Regions from separate parts of the Homo sapiens genome. Here region 1 is linked to region 2. Evidence: promoter capture Hi-C in 16 types of primary human blood cells and fetal thymus (Javierre and others, 2016). All regions are on one chromosome and are shown on one strand. The core of a region is centred on a gene start or on the middle of the fragment in contact, and the rest is flanking DNA. Distances in the headings are between cores, read along the strand shown. Region 1 overlaps MSC-AS1 (MSC antisense RNA 1). Region 2 holds the start of SLCO5A1 (solute carrier organic anion transporter family member 5A1).

Region 1 (6,261 bases), core at 3,115-5,614, 2.0 Mb after region 2:
TGAAATTAGGATGTGGGAGAGGGTAAGGAAGCAAAGGGAGTAAACCCAGCCTGGCCAGGATATTGGCTCCATGACTGGGTCAGTTCTGATTCATTTTTTATCTTCATGATATGTCACATATTCCTGCCTGTTTGCATGCCTGGTAACTTTTGGCTGGATGCCAGACACCATGAATTTTGCCCTTTGGGTACTGGGAATTTTTTGTATTCCACCAAATATTATTGATCTTTGTTCTCAGATGCAGTTGAGTTACTTGGAAATAATGATTTCTTTGGGTCTTTAAGATGTGTAGAAGGAACCAGAGCAGTGTTCCTTCTAGAGCTAATTGTCCCCCATTGCTGAGGCAAGACTCTTATAAGCACTCAACCTAATGCACTGGGAACATGAAATTTTCCAGTCTGGCTAGAACAGATATTATTCCTGGCTCTGTGTGAGTAGCTGGCTGTGTTCCCTTTCATCCTTTTTGGTGGTTCTTCCTTCAGCCTCTGGTAGTTTCCTCACATGCTCGTGATGATTGGCTGAATACTCCAAGGGCACCCTCTGCAGATCCCCAGGTTCTTTCTCTGTGCACCTCTCTTCCCTCTGCTACCCTGCCGGGTGAATTCTAGCTACTTTGGTCTGCCCAGCCTCTCAGGTCTGTCTTCTCAACTCAGGGAGTGTGTTTGGCTCTCCTGGGTCCCCTTGTCCTGCTCCACAGCGTGGAAACTCTGTCACGGCACCGGCTGGGACAGTTGTAGGGCTTCCTTTGTTTGTTTCCCATCTCTCAGGGTTCATTGTCCTTCATTACCTCCTGTAGAATGTTTTAAGAACCATGGTTTGATACATTTTGTCTGTTTTAGGGAAGTTTCAGGTAGAAAGTTAAGTCTTATCCCTGTTACGCAATCTTAGCCCCAGGTGGAAGCCTTTGGAATGGCACCTTTATAGGAAACGTATTTTATTTTATTTTTGTTTTGTTTTTAAGAGTGATACCTGCTTGAGCATGCTTGTATTTTGAGAGGAAGATACTGGAGAAAAGAAAGAGATTAAAGATATTAAAAATATGGGGAGGGGATTAAAGATATTAACATATGGGAAAAATATATTAAAAATATGGAAATAGTGATGGAGCAAATCCCACAGGAAATGGAGGCTGATGAGTTAGCCTTGAAGAAGAGGATGTACATATCTTTTTGCCTGAAATACTGTAGGATGTCTCTGTAGATCAGTAGAGATTTGTAATGGGAAGTTAAAGAAGTTAGTCCCTGATGGTCTCTGTTTTCTCAGTGGAATATGAATTAAAGTTGTCTACATAGAATAGGTGGGTAGACATGAGTTACTAGAATCAACAGAAATGGGAAATGTGGGGAATAACCATTCTGGAGAATATAAAAAGAGTCTAAGTAGGGGTAAGGAAATGTATTTCAAAACAGTGTTAAGGGCTTTGATGACATTGACTGATGAGCACTTATACCCATTAACAAATGTGAAGTTATCTAGCACAGTGATTCACATGGAGTGGTTTTCAGCTAGAAATAGCTGAATCTTAACAAATTAACCTGTTTATATTTTCAATAGCAAGAACTTGCAAGAATGAACTATTTATGGGACCATTAAGTTTTGATGAGGTAGAGATGCAATTTAGGAACTTGGAGTTCAGGGGAAATACTCTTGGAGATTTAGATGAAGATTCTACAGTTGGGGACCCATGGTATGCAGGAGGGAGGCAAAATGAAGCCATACTTTTAACTCTTTGGGGTAGGTGGAGAGGGAAGGATTTGCAAAGTTGCAGTATCACTATATTGCAGAAATGTTGGGGGTGCCACTGACAGAATATAATATGGAGTGATCTATATATTTCTCAGATCTTTCAGTTGTGCGTTATCTATGTAAAATGGACTTAACGACAAAATACATGAATGCATGCATACACACAGACATACATGCAAACTATTTTTCAAAACTTAGGCTCTCTGGAGATATTAGCAGATTTCTTTCAACATATTCCATAGGCATTTGGAACACAGCAAATTTAGGGTATTTTAAATCAATAATAAACTTATGATTTCTTCATTTTTGCTATAGGGAACTCATTAACATGTAGTTTAACAGGGAGAAAAAGCAGAGTATGTCAGATTGCACCCCCATACCCTTATATTCTCATTTTAAACATTAATATCCCCCATATTTTACAGATAAAGATATTGGAGTTAAGAGAGATGAAGTTCCTTGCTGAAGAATACAAAGATAATTGAAGAGGAACTCAGATGTCTAGAATGAGAGTCTAGTGCTCTTGTTGCTATATCATGTCCATTATGGTTAATTTTATGTCTCACCTTGGCTAGGCCATTGTACCCAGATAGTTGCACAAACAGTATTCTAGATTTTTCTGTGGAGTTTTTTTTTTTTTTTGTATGAGATATAAATTTAAATCACTAGACTTGGAGTAAAGAAGATTGCCTGCCGTAATATGAGTGGGTCTCATCCAATCAGATGAAGGCCGTAATAGAAAATGACTCACCTTCTAGGAAGAAGAGGGCATTTTGCCAGCAGACTGCTTTCAGACTAGAACGCAGCTCTTCTCTGGTCTCCATCCTGCCAGGCTACCCTCCAGAGTTTAGACTTGCCATCTTCCACAATCGTGTGAGCCAATTCCTTAAAATAAGTCTCTCTCTGTCCTCTCCTCTCTGACACACACACACACACACACACACCCCTTATTCATTGTGTTTCTCTAGAGTATCCTTACTAATACAATGTTCTTGGACAATGCATGTGAAATACTAGAGAATTTAATAAGCAGGCTAAGCTACAATGCCAGGCACTCTGTGCTTAACTCCAGAGTATTTAAAGTGATAGTAAATCTTCTAGTTCTTGATATTTAGCATTCGTTTTAGAAGTCATAGAAAAATAAGCTTGACCAGGGAGGAAAATGTTACAAGTAACTTTTATACTTACTTGTGACACAAAACACATTAACTTTTTATATTTAATTCTAATGTTTATACTACTTGGTTGAAAAATACTAATTTTAATTATAGTATTTTTGCTTTGATAATCATTGAACCTTTCTTTTAATTGAAATATAATTCTCATACCACAAAGTTCATACTTTAAAGATGTGCAGTTAAGTGATTTCTAAGTATATTCAAAAAGGTTGTGCAACCATCACCACTCTGTAATTCCTAAACATTTGTATCATCCCCAAACAAAACCCCATAACCATTAGCAGTCATTTCCCGTTTCTCCCTCTTCCAGATCCCCTGGCAACCACTAGTTTATCTGTCTTTGTAGATTCATCTGTTCTGGACATACTACATATATAATAATATTCCATTGAAAAACTTTCTATATAATAAGCCACAGACTTTTAATGCCTTGTTTCTTTTACTAAGCATAATGTTTTTTAAGGTTCATTCATATTTTAGCTTGCTTTTGTATTTCAATTTTATGTGACTGAATTAATATTTCATTATATATAATTATATATAACATACATATAATGATATATATATATACACACACCAAATTGTAATTATTTATTTATCAATTTATGGGCACCTGGGATATGTCCAATCTTTGGCTATTATGAATAATGCTGCTATGAATATTCATGTACAAGTTTATTGTGAACATATGTTTTCAACTGTCTTGGGTATATACCTAATAGTGGAAATGCTGGGTCGTATAGTAACTCTATGGTTAACTATTTGATAATCTATCAGACTATTTTCCAAAGTGGCTATACCATTTTACATTCTCAGCAGCAATGTAGTCTCTCCACATCCTTACCAATACTTGTTATTGTTCTTTGTTTTGATTATAATCATCGTACTGGGTGTGAAAGTTATATCTTATAGTGGTTTTGATTTGCATTTCCCTAACAGCTAATGAAGTTCAGCATCTTTCAATGTACTTGTTGTATATTTATCTATCTTCTTTGCAGAAAAGTCTATTTAGATATTTTTCATTTTTAAATTAAATTTTTTGTCCTGTTGTTGTTGAGTTATAAATGTCATTTATTATTTGTTGAATGTTTCCTCCAAATTGTATATGTCACAAACTTAATCCACAATGTGGCAGTATTGAAAGGGCCTTTAAGAGGTAATTGGATCTTGAAAGCACAGCTTTCATGAATGGATTAATCTATTCATGGATTAATAGATGAATGGGATAATGGGTTAATGGGCATGGAACTGGTGGCTTTGTAAGAAGAGGAAGAGAGACCTGAGCAAGGTTCAGCCCCATCACTATGTGATTCCAGGCCTCAAGATTCTTCAGAGTTCCCATTAGCAAGAAGGCTCTCACCAGATGTGGCCCCTTGACTCTGGACATCTCAGCCTTCATAACTATAAGAAATAAATTCCTTTTCTTCACAAATTACCCAGTTTCAGGTATTCTGTAATGAGCAGCAGAAAATGCACTAAAATACTCCCTCAGTTTTTGTTAATATAAGGATGTCTTAATTTCTTACTTAATTTTGAAGGATAGTGTGCTGAAATAGGATTATTGGTTGAAAATTTTTTTCTCTCAGCACTTTGAATATATTGCCCCACTGCCTTCTGGCCTTTAAAGTTTCTGATGGGAAATATGCAGGTGGTTTTATTGAGGATCCTTTGTAAATGATGAGATCCTTCTGTCTTGCTGCTTTCAGGATTCTCTCGTCTTTCTCTCAAAAGTTGTATTATTATGTGTCTTGGTGTGGATCTCTTTTAGTTCATCTTACTTGGAGTTTGTTGAGTTTTTTAGATGTTTGTATTCATTTATTTCATCCCATATGGGAACTTTTCAGCCATTATTTCTATAAATATTCTCTCTTTCCCATTCTCCATTCTCCTTATAGAAATCCCAGAATACATGTATTCTGTTTGATGTTGTCCCCCAGATCCCTTAGGCTCTGCTCACTTTTCTTTAAGCATTCTTTTTTCTTTTTCTTTTTAAGAGACAGTTTCACTCCGCCTCCTAGGCTGGAGTGCTGTGGCATGATTATACCTTACAACAGCCTCAAACTCCTGGGATCAAGCAGTTCTCCCACTTCAGCCTCCCTAGTAGCTAGGACTACAGGCATGTGCCACCATGTTCAGCTAATTTTTAAAATTATCTATAGAGGTAGGGTCTCACTAAGCTGCTCAGGCTGATCTCAAACTCCTGATCTCAAGGGCTCTTCCTGTTTTGAAGTGCTGGGATTACAGACATGAGCCACTGTGCCCTGTTTAAACTTTTTTTCTTTTGTTCCTCAGATGAAGTTGATTTCCATTGTCCTATCTTCACTGATTTTTTTTTCTGCCTGCTCAAATCTGCCTTTGAATCCCTCTAGTGAATTTTTTTTTTTTACTTTAGTTATTATACCTTTTAGCTCCAGAATTTCTCTTTGTTTTCTTTTTAGGTTTTCTATCTCATTGTTGGTATTGCGATTTCCCCATAAGAAATGTATTACTTGTATTACTTAGGTTTTTTGTTTGCCATGTTTTCATTTTCTTCCATAAAGGTATTTTCTAATTTTCTTTGTGATTTCTTTACTGACCCATGGGTTTTTAAATGATTGTGTTGTTTAATTTCCATAAATTTGTGAATTCCCCAAATGTATTTCTCTTACTGGATAAGTATTTTGTATTATTTCAGTCCTTTTAAATTTACTGAGATTTGTTTTATGGCCTAGAATAGGGCCTATCCTAGGGAATGTTCTGTGTATACTTGAGAAAAATGTATATCCTACTGCTGTGGGGTAGAGTGTTCCTCCAATGCCTGAAAGGTCTGCTTAATTTATGGCTTCCACTGTGATTGTAAGCTGTCAGTTTTCAAGGCTACTATGGAGCTGGAAGAGAAGAAGGGAATGGGAGTAGGACAAGTTAAAACACAGCAAAGCTTACTGTTCTTACTGATATTCAGCTGTTTTTCTTCAAAAAAAAAATACCCAGATTGCTGCAGAACTTTGGCTAATTTCTAGCATTCTGAAAATGTTGATTCTGATAATTTTGTGAGTTTTCTCATTGCTTTCATGGGGAAGATTATTTTCGCAAGTCTGTCATTTTTGCGGACATCACCTTGTCTTCCACTGAATCTTGATGTATATTTTATATATCATGAGGTCCAATTAAAAGAGCAGTAAATTAAGTACCAGTTCTCTACGTGTAGGAAGGAGAATGTTAAGAAGTTTCACATATGTTAAGAAGCTCCATATTTAGTCTTTTCTGAAGTTTCCAATTTTCACTGGCACAAGAATGAGGCAGAGCAGAGGAACCACTGGGATTCAGCAAGATTAGCTTCACATTGCTTGTCTACCAC
Region 2 (6,185 bases), core at 1,285-3,784:
TTCGGGCCTTGCTTCAACTCCTGGTGGCCCGAAGAATCCACACAGCCAAAGGCCGGGTTGGCGTCTCCACTAGTGGGACTGAGGCTTGGCCGGCAGGAGGCGCTGCTGAGGACCGGTAAACTCTTAGACCTGAGGGTCTCCGGCTCGCACCTCTCTTGGACAGCTTCTGCAGTGGCCGGCGCCTCCAGCTGCTCTCCCGCCCCGGGCTGCAGTCCAGTGCCTTCGTCCATGGCGCTTAGAATTCAGATTTGATAGCTGATGGCACCCAAGCACTCCGGCACGTTTCATCCACCGGCACGAGGGGCCGAAGCCGGGCCCAGTCAGTCTTGCCCACCTGGGACTGGGGCTGGGGGCGCAGGGCCGCGCAGCAGGGCATCCTCACCAGCTGCGAGGCGCCCAGTGCATCCTGATCACAGACACGGCTTCAAGGCTCCGCAGCCGCGTGCCACAGGGGGCAGGGGTCCGCGCGGTACTGCGATGAGCCCTACTCGGCGTCCCTCTCCGGGCGGTAGCTTGAGGCAGGCGCCTCGCGCGTCCCGGGCTCATCCCCTCCGCCGCCGCCGCCGCCGCCGCCGCTGGGCCCGCGGCCAGGAGCGAGTGCACCCTGCGCCGGGGGTGGGGGGGCACTTAGCGCTGCTGTCCGTACAGCATCCCACCTCGCTGCGCCAGGGGTACCGGGTGTTCGCCGCCTGGGCTCGCGGCACCCTCGGGAGTGAAGCTGCCGACCTGCAAAGCAGAAAGAGGGCGGTCAGCGAAGAGCGGCTGCGGCTTGGGGCTAGCGTCCCAGCGCCCCGGGGACCAGGGTTAGGTGACCCCGAACCGTCCCTAGAGGGACGGAGGAGCTAGTCAGGAGCGGAGCCCCGGAGGACTAGGCAGCAGCCGGCTGCAGTCTCCAGTCCCGGAACAATAAGCAGCAGGCGGTCGGCGGAGACTCTCCCTCATTGTCTGCCGCGGACCTGCCCCCGTCCCGCCCCTTCTGCCTTAAACATTGCGTTTGCTTTTATATGTTAATAATTATCAACCTGGCAGCTCTGACTCAGAGGCAGTGTCTTTTAATCGAGTGAACTAACTGCAGCCTTTCCGTACTCCTACTCCATTACTCAAAATAGAAAATGCCCAAAAGAACAAAGGAAACTTTTTCACAGACACACAATGTATTCCCTGTCCCAATTTTTCTAAAAGGAAAAAAGAAGGTGGGGGTAAACTACGTGTGTAGAAATGTGTGTGCACACTGGTGTGCGTTGGCACGTGTGCGCGACTAGATTTGAATCTGTCTGCTCCACCAGAGACACACATTCAAAGCCGAAGGCAGCAGCAAAAAGGTCAACATGCTTGCCTCTTTATTCCCAACACCAAAAATAACCCCCTGACCGAAAGAACTCTTCAATTACAAATACCAGGGGCATTCGAGGCTGTGGCCCGCACTAAGTCCCAGAGCGCGGTATCAAACGAAACCGAAAATCCGTCTGCTTTGCCGAGAGCTAGGGAAGCCACAACCAAACAAAGAGATCCCGGCACGCTGTCAGAGAGCGCGCGAGGAGCCCACGGAGCCGGCTGGGCGCACGCGGGCCGGCGGGGAGGTGTGCTATTGACTGAGCGCACCCCGCTAGCGTGGGCCTGGGGAGCGTGTGCGCGTGCGCGGCCACACACACACACACACACACACACACACACACACACACACACCGGCGTACTGGAACCTCTCTCGCGATCCCGCACCCAGCTTGAATTCAGCAAGAATCGAAAACAGGTGTGCCCCCGTGGTAAGACCCCGCCCCTAATCTTGGGGACCCCCACTCCACTCCTCCAGCCTGGGGCAAGGACGGGGGGCGGAATATGCACCAGGTGGGAGACAGCCGAGCTTCACTACACTGGGTTTCATTTTGCAGCGCGCCTTTGTGATGCTGCTGAGAAAAGAAAGGAGGAAGGGCAAGGGAGAAAGGCAGAGAGGCTGGGCGGCCAAGGGTGGCCGCTCCGGCATCTCCCTCGGCTGTGCTGGGCCAAACCCGCTCCCAGATTCCCGGCCTGCCAGCCACTCACAATCCCGGGCTTCCCCGCCGCTGCCTTACCCAGGCGCCTTCCCGGGGAACCCCACCAGCCGCTGCGTGAGGAGCCGGGGAATCCCAGCAAACTCTCGCCGCTCGCGGGGGGCGTCCGAACCCCCTGCTTAGGCGAGCGCCCTCACAGCATCGCAGACTCGGATGGACACGCGGATCCCGGCAGGGAGCTCTTGGAGCAGGCGTGGAATCCCAGGGACACCCCCTGCGCGCACATCACATACACGCACATCCTACACACACACACACACACACACACACACACACACACACACACACAGAGCCCGTGGGAAGACAAGACCGCCGGCGACAGCCCGCCGCGCTGCCCGGGCGCTCAAGCCGCCGCTACTCACTAGCGAGTCTGTCAGTCTGTCTGCCTGGCTGAGTAGAGCGGCGGGAGGGGGGCACTGAGCTACGGGAATAGTTGGGAGCCGCGTGAGGAGGCAGCCTCCGTCCAGCCGAAGAGAAATCAGTGAATGAGACTGTGACTCAGGCTGAACTCTTCCCCCCACCCCTCGCCTGTCACCCAAGCCTCTCCTCCGCTCCAAACAGACACACGCGCACAGAGACGCGCCCGGAGAGGAGCAGCCGAGGGCGCAGGCGCGAGGGCAGCCACCCAGCCCAGCCCTCCCACAGCCAGCCACCCCGCTGCCCTTCACCTGCGTGGCTGCGGGGGCCCAAGAGCGCTGAAGCCCCGAGGGAGCCGGTCTCTAGAAAAGTCAGCGGCTGAAGCTGACAGCCCACTCTGAATAAATAAATCATTTCTGATCGTTTATTCCGTGCCTTGGGCACACACCATGTCTCATTCACCATAGTAGATTCTGGGACCAAAGATAAACAAGACAAGATACTTGGTCGGAGGAAACCTCTGGCTTGTGGGGGAAATACTCATGTAAATGGCTTAAAACAACGTGGTACATCTATGCAGCCTGCTACTGGAGTAGCCAATATCCATTAGCCTTCATTTCCACGCAGCAGGAAGAACAGAGGCACGGGGGCATGGTGCTGCCAGTCAATAGGTAGATAAGCTTCCTAGAAGATTGCAGGGATGGGGCAGAGGACCAGACTGCAAGAGTGGCTGAGTAGAAAGGGGCACTACGGGTTTCCTAAGTTGTGTACTGTCAATAATGTGGGGGCAATGACGTTCTGACTTCCTCACCAGAGAGCTGGCTCTGGCAGTGACAGGTAGACAGATGTGAGGCCACACTGCGGGCACAGAAGTGAGTTGGGAGGCAGTCTGAAAGCAAAATGTGATGAGGCATTGGCAGGGGGCATGGAGAGGAGGGAACTGGGCAGCTGATGCAATCTGCAAGAGAAGAAAACCAGCCGAGGTAGGATGACTCCCAAGTTTCTAGCACCAAGTTGGGTGACTACGTGCCTGACAGCCAATAAAAGCACAGGTGGAGAAACATGCTTTAGGAGAAAGATTGTTCTCATCTACATGTGTTGAGTTTGAAATGTTTGGGGGACATCCCAGTGTACGTGTCCCATAAGCCACTGGACACACAGGAGGTTTGGACTAGGAATATTGATCAGTAGTCATCAGCCCAAAGGTGGCATGAGAAAGGATGGAATGAATAGGGAAGATCATCCAAATTGTGAAGAATCTAGGAGGACAGCGTACAGCCAAAGGAAGGAGACTGGAAGCAAGGGTCAGAGAGGTGTGGGACGCATCAGAAAAGCCAAAAGAGCAGACGACTGTAAGAAGGGAAGGGTCAGATGTGTACAGGCTGCAGGGAAGACAAACAGGATGATAACTGAAAAAAAAAAAAAAAAAGAGTATCTGAGGGCACTTGTGACCATTGACAGAGCAGGATAGTGCTCTAATGGAGGAAAGGAGGTTGCTCACAAGTACCAGTGACCATGCTGGCCATTGCTGCCAGGTCGAAGCCCCTCCACTGGCCCTTGGCCTTGCCCAATGAAAGCATTGTCTCCATTTTACAGATGTGATAAGTGTAGAGAGGTTAAGTAACTTTATATAGGCACACAGCTGCTCTGTAGACAATATGAACCAATGTGCTCCAAAAGACTATGTTCTTACTTAACCTCTTAACCCTGACTCTCTACCCTCTCTCCTGCCATTGAATAACATCCTGACTCGTCAATGCACCTTGATTCTTTTGATTATCTCCCTTTAGTCCAACAACCGTCGTATCTACAGCGATCCTTAGAGAACAATTAAGGCCAGTTGACAGTAAAGAACAATCAGTGTGTATTTGAAGTCCATGCTGAGAGAGCATCAATCTTCTGGCAGCTGCAAGACTGACCTATCAACCGAGGCATTTCTTCATTCCCTGCCATTGTCTCCTCCTCTTGAGATCGCCATCAGGCACAGTCACTTTTCTACAAACAGGCAATAGGACTCCCGCTGCCACCCTGCCCAGATTTTAGTCCTCTACTGCTGATAAAGTGAGCAAAGATACGTGGCACTTCCTGAACCCAAATACTCTTCTGAGCTGATTCTAAATCCACACAGAATCAACCTACCTCCTATTACCTCCTTCCAAGCTCTGTGTCCCATTCTCTCATTTCAGTCTCAGCTCCAGACATCAGTGAATTCAATGTGATACATCAGGGGACATCACAGGACTTCCCTACTTGAAAATCAAGCAATCGTGTCCCTGAAACACTCTGTCTTTATTCATGCTCAGTTACCGTAAAGTAGATGCAACTCTAAGAACCTATGGATTTTTTTATTGCCACTAATAGATCATGATTTACAGCAAAATTTTAAAAGGTCCAATTTTACTCACATAAGAAGAAGAAAACATTCAGCAAGAAGCATTTCTTTTGCTTTATCTTTCCCAGTTAAATATGACTTTAAAAAAGACAAAATTTTAAAAGGTCCAATTTTACTCACAAAAGAAGAAGAAAACATTCAGCAAGAAGCATTTCTTTTGCTTTATCTTTCCCAGTTAAATATGACTTTAAAAAAGACAAAATTTTAAAAGGTCCAATTTTACTCACATAGGAAACAAGAAGAAAACATTCAGCAAGAAGCATTTCTTTTGCTTTATCTTTCCCAGTTAAATATGACTTTGAAAAAGAAGAGCACACCTCATTAGCCGTAATTGTCTGATTAATACAAAGAAATGGACTCATATCACGGGGTTCTACTACCCCTATGGTAGTGTTTACTATCCTTATTTCACTCAATAATTACAGTTACTTTAACCAGAATGCCTGCCTTGTTTGGCATTTTGGGAGAGGAAGCATATGACTGTAAACCCTCTTCAAACTTTCAGACTTACGTTTGCTTCTTCTAAGTCCATCGACTTTATACATAAATGACTTCTTTTTAAAAATAAATAAATAAATAAATAAATAAATGATTTCTTTCCTGATCTTCATATAACAAGTATGTAGCCTTTGCAATTTCCAGGGCAGTCTACAGGTTTAAAATCTGGCCGTCCTGGAGAATGGGCAGAAGAAAGCTGAAGGGAGCCTTTTCCCACAGCCCTTCCCTTCCTTCTTAAAGAAGGTTCACTTCAGAGGTCTCCCAGATACAACAAGAACTGAGTTTTTGGTTCAGAATATTTTGTGGGTGCAAAACATAATACATAGTTGCCAGTAACATAATTGAATTAGGTGTTGGTTGTTTAAGAGGAGACACATTGTATCTTTAAGGTAGCCCCTTAATAGAACTTGGCATGTATATCCTTCCTTAGAAGTGAATTTCAGGTTGGGTAAAACCTGAGAAGGAACAGATCTGGCCCTGGGGTACAATGAATGCAGGCAATCACTCCAGCCCTGGTGGCTTGAGGGCCCTGCAAGTGCTAAAGGAGTATAGTGACCAACTGTGTCCAAAGAGACTTAGCACTGCAAGTCCCACACCCCCAAGAAACCACAGTTCCATGAACACCTGGAGGCTTGGCTCCCTATAAAGAAACTGCCACCTCCCTTAATATAATTAAGCCAGATTAGCTGGGTACTGTGGCTCACACCTGTAACCCCAGCACTTTAAGAGGCTGAGATGGGAGGATCCCTTGAGAACACATTTCCACTAAAAAAAAATTTTTTTTAAATAGCCAGGCATGGTGGCATATGCCTGTGGTCTCAGCAACTCAGGAGGCTGAGGCAAAAGGATCACTTAAGCCCAGGAGGTAGAGGCTGCAGTAGGCTGTGATT

Evidence for each region. Contacts are between HindIII fragments. The CHiCAGO score rates a contact against its expected background, and 5 or more counts as called.
Region 1: a fragment that was not itself captured here is called in contact with the fragment with the promoter of SLCO5A1 in region 2 in 1 of 17 cell types (total CD4 T cells); the score reaches 6.6 in total CD4 T cells.

Annotation. Positions count from the first base shown.
Region 1 is chr8:71,851,995-71,858,255 of GRCh38, forward strand. The region is part of intron 2 of MSC-AS1 (MSC antisense RNA 1); the gene reads left to right. Among named protein-coding and RNA genes, the nearest start is that of MSC, 11 kb to the left of the region's middle. The HindIII fragment of the contact is 2,950 bases long and covers 2,890-5,839 here.
Region 2 is chr8:69,832,444-69,838,628 of GRCh38, forward strand. It overlaps SLCO5A1 (solute carrier organic anion transporter family member 5A1), which reads right to left and starts at 2,535. Exons shown (of 10, transcript NM_030958.3): 1 at 2,411-2,535; 2 at 1-726. The coding sequence starts at 230. SLCO5A1-AS1 (SLCO5A1 antisense RNA 1) reads left to right here and starts at 1,669. Exons shown (of 4, transcript NR_186568.1): 1 at 1,669-1,750. RefSeq lists silencers at 511-600, 2,691-2,800 and enhancers at 791-860, 2,291-2,370. The HindIII fragment of the contact is 8,160 bases long and covers 1-3,083 here.